Regions from separate parts of the Homo sapiens genome. Here all the other regions are linked to region 2. Evidence: promoter capture Hi-C in 16 types of primary human blood cells and fetal thymus (Javierre and others, 2016). All regions are on one chromosome and are shown on one strand. The core of a region is centred on a gene start or on the middle of the fragment in contact, and the rest is flanking DNA. Distances in the headings are between cores, read along the strand shown. Region 1 has its middle 270 kb from the start of SYNE1-AS1. Region 2 holds the start of SYNE1-AS1 (SYNE1 antisense RNA 1). Region 3 holds the start of MYCT1 (MYC target 1).

Region 1 (3,026 bases), core at 456-2,955, 270 kb after region 2:
ACACAGAAAGTTTCATTTTTATGTCATCAAACCTGGCAGGTTCTTTTTCCTTGGTAGATTCTAGTTAGTCTACATTAAGAAGGCCTTTTTTTATTTTAAGATTATGCAAAAGTTTCTTTGCATTTTCTTCTAGTAGGTCTATAATCTATCTGGAATTATTTTTGTCATTAGTATGAAGTAAGGAACTAGTTTGTCATTCTCCAAATGAATAGATAATTGTCCCAAAACCAATCAGGGACAAGACAGAGAGGCCCCCTGTTGTTATAATTTTCTAGCAACCTAGATGTTCATCAGCAGGAGGATTGTTGAATTAATTATAGTGCATACCTAGTATTCAGTATGGCGTAACTATTTTTATAAAATGAAATCAATCTATATGTATTGATTAGGGAAAATGCCTACTATATATTCTTACATTTTATAAAAACAAGATATAGAATAATATGATTCCATTTTGTAGGGAAAAACTCGTGTATATAGTAATGGCATGAAGCAAGGTGAAAGTTTGGAGAGACATGTGAAATATAAGGCTTGACATTTTGACTGCAGTCAGAGTGGGGAAAGCACTTTAAACATTTGTATTTAAATTACATCAAGGAGCATGACTTGTTTTTTAGATCCAAGTTGCTATAAGAATAATGATAATTTTAAAAGACAAAAGAAAAGTACTTCAGTTCTTATATGAGGAAACATTTGACTTGCTTTTTTTTTTTTTTTTTTTTTTTTTTGAGACGGAGTCTAGCTCTGTCACCCAGGCTGGAGTGCAGTGGCGCGATCTCGGCTCACTGCAAGCTCCGCCTCCCGGGTTCACGCCATTCTCCTGCCTCAGCCTCCCAAGTAGCTGGGACTACAGGCGCCCGCCACTACGCCCGGCTAATTTTTTGTATTTTTAGTAGAGACGGGGTTTCACCGTTTTAGCCCGGATGGTCTCGATCTCCTGACCTCGTGATCCGCCCGCCTCGGCCTCCCAAAGTGCTGGGATTACAGGCGTGAGCCACCGCGCCCGGCCTTGACTTGCTTTTTAATTAAAAAACTTTTCTTGGTATGCCCGAAATAAATGTTAACAAGTCATTTATTAAAAGTGGCCAAATTCTAATGGATGACTTTGCTCTAGGTTTTCATCTTAAATGCATGGTTGGTTTCATGGCATAAGAGCAAAGGCCTGATTTGAGGTAAGGAGGCTCCCTGACTGGGGGATTTATGAATCCTAGGAGATGAGCTTTCCTAGGAGAGATGTCCAAATGAGACCTACATGTTCACAAAAACCCGCAACTTCCTAAACTACCACCTGCCTCCAGAAGTCACCCTGCTCACAGGTGAAATCAGTTCTTGAGTCGCAGACTGGTCCCCAGAAATGATGGGGCGGGGAGGGACAGTGACTCGAAAGTCATAGGCAGCTTCTCTACCTGTACCTTTCTTTCCTGATGCAGGTGCCAGAGAGTCAGCCTGCTTTCCTTCTGCGTTGAAATCTGTTCCCATTCAACAGCTTCACACAGGATTCTGCCCACCCAAGCCTGGCTTGGGCACGGGGCTCAGTTCCTCCCTCCCACACCTTCCCTATGGTGTTTGCTAATCACAGTGGGAAAACTGATAGAGTAGCTAATGATCTGGACATTTATAAAATCCCTTTTGTCCAAATCTTACAGAGGCTCCTTCCATAACATAAACTCTGGAGCCAAAAATACCTTGGCTCAGTCCCCAGCTCAGCCACTTCCTAGCTGTATAACCTGAGCAACTTACTTAAACTTTCTATTCCTCAGTTTCTTCCTCTGTAAAATGGGATAATAATGGTGCCTCCTGCGTGGGTTGTTATGACGTTAATACATTAATGTATAGGATGTGTTGATGAGGACTGAGGGACAGTTAACGCTATTTTAGTCGTTCCTCTAGTTTGGTTTTGGAAATCGCTATTGGGAATTACCAGATCTTCCCACACTTGTTTTTAATCTTTTTTATGAGGAGAAAGTCTCTTAAAATTGTTAAAATTGTTGTTTCTTTCTTTTTTAAGATTGTGGTTAAACACACACACACACACACACACACAATATGAGATCTTCCCTCTTCACAAATGTGTCAGTGTACAGCTCAGTTCGTTACTTCTCAGCACAATGTTGTAGGGCAGACCTCTGTCTCAGACTCTCGACAGCCCTGCGGTAACTGAGGACTCAGCCAGTGGGAATGGAAAGACTCCCTCCCAGATGAGTGCATTTCCCAGGCCCTCCCTTTCCAGGTGCCCCCCGCCCCATGCAGAGGACCACCTGTCAGGGACTCTTACTCCTTTCATCAGGAGGGTACCTGTGGCTTGATGGTGCCTGACAAAGGTCAGGGAATTACAGTCCCTGCCTGTTTTTATAGGCCCTTGAGCTAAGAATGGGTTTTATATTTTCAAAGAATTGTAAAGCAAAGAGAGACAAACAAACAAACAAACAAACAGAAATGCCTAAACTACTTACTCTTTGGCCCTGTACAGAAAAATTTGCTGACCTGTGATAGAGCCACCCAAGACACACAGCACTGGCGGCAGGGTGGGACAGGCAGCGCCCCGGCCTTTTGCGCTTCTTTCTCCTGAAACAGTTCTCAGAATGGGCATCCTCTTTGGGTGAGCTCAGCACTCGCCCCACCTCCATCTGACTGCCATTTGGGGTTCTTCCCTGAAAACACGTTCGTGACATCCATCCATGAAGAATTCTCTCTTTCATTTTGATGTTCCCTTTTTGTTTTTTCTTGGATTCTGTAGGGGGTCTTGGGAACAGGGACTTCACGTTTTTGTCTTCAGAATGGAAATGGCATGGTCTTTTGCAGTGGGCTCAGAAGGTTCTGCAAATCCCTTGGCCGCTTCCAGTTTCCCTTGTTCGTTTCCTGGTTGGGCGCCTGCCAGGTCAGCTGCTGGTGCTGACATCAGGAGTGCCAGTAGCTGGCCCCTCTGCAGAGTTTCGTTCTGGGGCTGGGTATGTCCCTCCGGCAAGGAGAGCACATAGGTGGTTTCCCAGAGCTCGGTGGGAATGGGCAGTGTGGCACCAGGATGG
Region 2 (2,990 bases), core at 209-2,708:
TAATAAATGTACTCAGTCTAGAGGTTACTTTAAACTTTTGAGTAAGTCAGTCTATGAATGAATTATTCATTTTATATGCTACAAAAATGTTTACTTAGTATTGAGGTATTTGGAATCGAGTAGGGCTCATTCTTTTGCTGTGATGAGTCTGCTTGATTCCTAGTAGAATGGAAGTGTGATTTAAGCCACCACCCTGTTGAAGAAGATGAATTGAGTATAGAGACCGTGAGCAGAACACAGTTCTGCCACGATCTTTATTTACTTGAGCATCCACTTTGAGGGAAATATGGGTTTAATCATTCACAGGAGCAATCCACCACAGGCAAACACTTGAGTCACTAAACATTTTCACGTGTGCGAATAATGCCTGATTTCAGGGTCTCTGTTTAGTCTGTTTCAGGATATTGAGGATTCTCGGGATTTTTTTGCCATAAGCCTTAGGCACTCGTGATGACAACTCCCGCTATTATAATTTAAGAGTGGACAGATGAATTGATTCTGGGTCCTTGTGGCACACTTGTTAAAACTTCCTGGCAGGACAGGGTCCCCCTGTGTACACAGTTGAAAACTTGCAGTCCAAGTGACTCACAGGCTCTTCAGTTACCATGGTGATATTCCATTACAGGAGCTGATAGATTCCAGAGAGATTGGTGCAAGCCGTCTCAGCAGAGTGGAGTCGCTGGCTCCCGAAGTGAAACAGAACACAACTGCCAGTGGGTGTGAGCTCATGCACACGGAGATGCAGGCCCTGCGTGCCGACTGGAAGCAGTGGGAAGACAGTGTATTCCAAACGCAGAGCTGTTTGGAGAACCTGGTCAGCCAGATGGCCCTTTCGGAGCAGGAATTCTCAGGCCAAGTGGCTCAACTGGAGCAGGCCCTGGAACAGTTCAGTGCCCTTCTGAAAACCTGGGCTCAGCAGTTAACCCTCCTGGAAGGCAAGAACACGGATGAGGAGATAGTGGAATGCTGGCACAAAGGACAAGTAAGTTGGCTTCCTGTTTTCTATTGGTGGTTATGCTTTAAAAAATGTTTTGACTTTCATCATTCCTTAAAAAAAAAATCTTGCTAACTAAAAACACGCAACATGCACACTTGGAAGAAGTATTTATCTCATTAAATAAGCAAAGTCTGATTTGTTTCCTTTTCTTATATATCAAACTTTTGTAAAAATAAAGATTTGGGTTATTATTTGCGGTAGGAAACATTTGTTGTTAGTGGAGACATTTTACTTTCATTCCTATGGTGTAAGAGTCTGTAATACTGTATTCAGCCATTCAGTCTGAAAAATGGCCTGTGGGCAGGGGCATAAATAGACAGAGAGTCATAGCTGTTTTCTTGCCAGTTAACTATTTCATACAACTAAATGATTGAATTTATAGCCTTAAAAGACTCACTTGGTAATCTCCTACAGCACAGCAAATAGTTATCTCCCCGATTAGCTCTCCTCTGTGTGGTTTTGACAGCTGTTCTTGAATTAGCCTGTTAACAGAACTCTACGTCACCCTCCCTGGTCACCTTCCCGAGACTTTTTTTTTTTTTTTGAAGCTAATGGCAGCTTCTTTAGAATGTGAGAAAGGGAAGCCTACAAGGGAGACCGAAGAATGAGCAAGAGTGTAACCTCTTCTTCGTTTCTTTCACTGTTAAACAGTATCTTTGAAAGCCTTTTCAATATTTCCAGTTTTATAATGCCCTGATTCATGGATGTCCTTAAAAGGAAATTTAGTAAACTTCTCTGCTCCTATTTATATTACAATCATTTCAAAATAGCTCCTGCCAGTAAGAAAGTCATGTAGTATTTCCAGCAGTGTCTGGTTTTAAATCAAGTATTTGAAACAAATGCAGCATGCCATAAAATAAAGCTTTCTACCTCTTTATGCTACTCTATTTATAATGATTCTAGGTTTGGGGGTTTGTTTTTGTTATTCTGTTCCATTTCCTGTCCTTTAGATTTATGTACCAGAATAAAGCATAGAAATCAGTTCTGTCACAGAGGGACAAAGAAGTTGATAATTGCTCTACATGGTATAATATGAAAAAATCAGTTACACTTTCTTGGTTCCTTTTTCTTTCCCTTTCTTTCTATTCCAGTCACAGAGTGAAATTTTTAAAAAGGAAAGATTTGGCTGTGCCTAGATTACATTACTATTCTGTTCATTATTTTTACGTTGATATTATTAGTAAAAATAATGGTTGAGGCCTATAAAAATATACATGAGAATGCAGTAGTAAATATGGGTTTTCAGTTGTGTTAAATAGTTCAAATGTGACAGCCCTCTGTGTATGTCTGCTTCCAGATTTGACTCCAGGGTCAATGCTTTTGATGACAATGCTACATTGCTTCTCAATATTCATGTTTTCTTTTATTTCTAATAATGGCATTTTATCTAAAAGTGGAGATATTTCTATCACAATGAATATGTAAGAAAATGTTAACAAAATAGTAAATATGCTAGGGTTCTTAGGGCATTGTTTTGCTTTTAGGGAGGACTTGTCATTGTTGATGATCACAATAAGAATTAAAGTATTTATTTTATGCAATTAGATGACAATACTCAAGAAATTCTTTAAAACATAAAAACAGATGATCTATAAAGTATATAATATAATATTGTAAAAATAATTCTATTTACTATGTTTGCGAAACTCATTTATCTTAATATCCTTTGGGATATTAGCTTTGGAAATAATTTTCTTAAGCTGTATAAGGTGGAAAGATGCATTCTAGAACTTAACAGAATCAGAAATACATAAGCTGATATTTATATATTGACTCTACTGACATACTTTAGGATGAAGTTATAGAAATGTTTTAAATGTAACGTTTTGGTCAAAAACTTTTCACTTTTAATGTCATCCCATTCATAAGTAACTGACTTGAATCTCCAGTATTTTTATGTTTTTGTTGAATGCTAAGTTTCTTTAGTTCTTACAATGTTCTGTCTTAAGTAAAAGGTTCCATATGGTGTAAAATAGTTGGTCCTAGTTTAGTG
Region 3 (2,784 bases), core at 119-2,618, 320 kb before region 2:
CACATTTTTCATCTAAGAAAGTACATAGGTTAAAGGACTGGAGTGAATTCTTTTCATGCAAATTTCTGTGATGGTAGACATATAGATTGCTGGGAAAAGTCGGCCACTACTGCTCACTGTTTATGTGAAAGTTCCCAAAACCCCACCTTGAATCACAGCAGAAAGTCTGAATTGTACACTGAGAGGATTAAAAACTTGTTCTGGCCATATAAACAGATCTGTCCATATATACTATTTTCTTCATTAAAGTGTTTTTCTGAATTTAATTTAAATTGCCTCCTTTAATATAAAAATTTCCCTGAACCCAAGAGTACATGTCAACTCCCCATGTGAGCCCATCTTCTTTGTACCTCTAACCTGGAGCAACTGAGTTTTGACCTCAGCACAGTCCCATTGTCAACATCAGGGAACACTGGACTGTTAGCTGTGGCTGGACTCAGACAAAAAATTCTCCAAAAAATACTTTTGTATTGTTCTTTCCCCCCAACCCCTGTGATAGGATTCCATTGAATGTTACACGTGATGTTATTTCCACTTAATCTTTTCTACTATAGTTTTCTCAAATTTCATATTATTCCATGTTTTATTTGTTATACTCTAAAGTCATTCATTTATTTTACCTGTGTTATTGCACTTTAAATTCACTCATTTAAGTACAGATGTTATTAGGATTCACTTTGGAAATTAAAGCATATAACATTCACAACATAAGTGAAAATAGCCTCTATGGAAAATCTCAGTTTCATAAAATAAAATATATAATCTATAACCTTCAAACAAATGAAAGTTAATTTTTCCAACAAAATCTACATGCCATATTCTAAGCAGGAATTACCTCCACCTTATGTTTTTTATTTTTATCCTCACTATTTCCTAATTATATTTTGTAACACCAGCCAAAATCTGTACTTAATACCCAGATTCTTCTTGAATATCTTCATAGAACACTATAAAGACAAATAAATATATAAGTATATATTTATATCTATAAATATATTTCTGCTAATAAACGTATGAAATAGATTTCTGTTAATAAACATGAAAACTTTAAGTAATCACATTATAGTAAACAAAATGTCTCAGAGATTTTCACTGTTTTAATAATCACGCAGTGCATTTCTTACATCCTAATTTTAAATTTTAAACAGTAAAAGAAAATACCTTACCCCAAAAGTTTTCTGGCCATGGACTCCCTAAACTTGTTGTGTTATTAGCCATAATATCCACAAGAAATAGAAGAAAGAGAAGAAAAACAGAAAGAAAAACCAGTATGTCGAAAAAAAGCAGTTTGATTCTATCTCTTTGTAGTACAGCAAGAGAAAAATAATTTTTACACAACCCCTCATATACTTGTGTTCGCATAAAAGGAAATAAGTGTATCATGTTTCCTGCTTTTATACTCAAATTAGCAACTGTTTTTCTTATCTTGGAATTCCACATGGTTCCTGAGACACAAAACAATGTCCTTTTCATCATTTCCTCAGCTAAGTTCCTAAGTTCTCTCCTCTCAGCCACCTCCAAAACTGCTTTTAGGATAACAGGGTTGTGTGTGTGTGTGTGTGTTTGTGTGTGTGTGTGTGTGTGTTTCCTCATCCCCTACTGACATGGAAAGGAAGACTCCAAACTCTCAGCTACAGCACCTTGAATTAAATGTATACAGAATTGAGAAATAGACCACGTTCCAATGCTTGAAAATTAAATTTATATAGTAAATTGGGGGAAAGGACTATTCAAAACTCAGATACTTACTAAATTCTTTGTTGTTGTTGTTGTTGTTGTTTTTGAGACTTAGTCTCGCTCTGTCGCCCAGGCTGGAGTGCAGTGGTACGATCTCGGCTCACTGCAACCTGCCCCTCCCAGGTTCAAGCGATTCTCCTGCCTCAGCCTCCAGAGTAGCTGGGATTACAGGCGCGTGCCACCACACCCGGCTAATTTTTGTATTTTTACTAGAGATGGAGTTCCACCATGTTGGCCAGGCTGGTCATGAACTAGGCCTGACCTCAAGTGATCCACCTGCTTTGGCCTCCCAAAGTGCTGGGATTACAGCCATGCGCCACTGCGCTCGGCCACTATATTCTTAACATGTCTGTTTCTCTATTTGGTATACAAATTTTGAAAGTTATTTAATTCATTTCATAAATATCTAAGTGTAATTTATATAAAATTTGTGTTACTCTTTACTTAGTATTTAGTATGAAAAAACAGTTTCTACATTGAAGAAATATATTTAAAATCAAGGAGGGAAAACATAAATGCAAAATTTTTCATTACAAAGTTTGTTAAGTGCTATAACAAAGGGTACAACGATCTCAGGAATTTGTTTTTTATAGAGAAGTTTGAGAACTGATATAGGAAAGAGTTACATGAAACATTTTGAGAAACACAAGTTAGTTAACATTTCAAGAGTCTTTCCTCAAGCTTTGCTTGTTTAGACTGGATCCTCTGAGGACTTTGGAGGCACTGGAAATTGTGAATAACGTGTCAAACTGCACCTAGTAACTGCGCTAAACTGCATTCCATGATCTGGCTTCATCAATCTTTGAGTAACTCTAGCCTGAACTCTTGCATATATCTTGTATTAATCATATTCTAACTTATTAGTCATTAGAATATGACTTAGTGCAAAGTAGTATTCCTCTTTGTGAAGTCTGTAATATATTCCTGAGTAGTTCTAAGAAAACAACAAAAAAAGACAGTTATATTAATTTTTGCAGTCCTGCTTCTTCCAAAATGAGGTTGTTTCTGATCAGTCTCATTTTTTTGTGAATTTAAGTATAAATTTAT

The links. The method cuts DNA at HindIII sites, captures the fragments that hold promoters and counts their contacts. A CHiCAGO score of 5 or more calls a contact.
Region 1: a fragment that was not itself captured here is called in contact with the fragment with the promoter of SYNE1-AS1 in region 2 in 1 of 17 cell types (neutrophils); the score reaches 6.5 in neutrophils.
Region 3: the fragment with the promoter of MYCT1 here is called in contact with the fragment with the promoter of SYNE1-AS1 in region 2 in 1 of 17 cell types (endothelial precursors); the score reaches 5.3 in endothelial precursors.

The regions. Positions count from the first base shown.
Region 1 is chr6:152,112,593-152,115,618 of GRCh38, reverse strand. It overlaps a transcript of ESR1 not described here. Among named protein-coding and RNA genes, the nearest start is that of SYNE1-AS1, 270 kb to the left of the region's middle. The HindIII fragment of the contact is 6,058 bases long and covers 1-3,026 here.
Region 2 is chr6:152,378,998-152,381,987 of GRCh38, reverse strand. It overlaps SYNE1-AS1 (SYNE1 antisense RNA 1), which reads right to left and starts at 1,458. Exons shown (of 2, transcript NR_120501.1): 1 at 1,395-1,458; 2 at 275-928. It overlaps SYNE1 (spectrin repeat containing nuclear envelope protein 1), which reads left to right. Exons shown (of 146, transcript NM_182961.4): 56 at 626-982. The HindIII fragment of the contact is 6,155 bases long and covers 1-1,861 here.
Region 3 is chr6:152,696,481-152,699,264 of GRCh38, reverse strand. It overlaps MYCT1 (MYC target 1), which reads right to left and starts at 1,368. Exons shown (of 2, transcript NM_025107.3): 1 at 1,167-1,368. The coding sequence starts at 1,362. The HindIII fragment of the contact is 10,649 bases long and covers 1-2,420 here.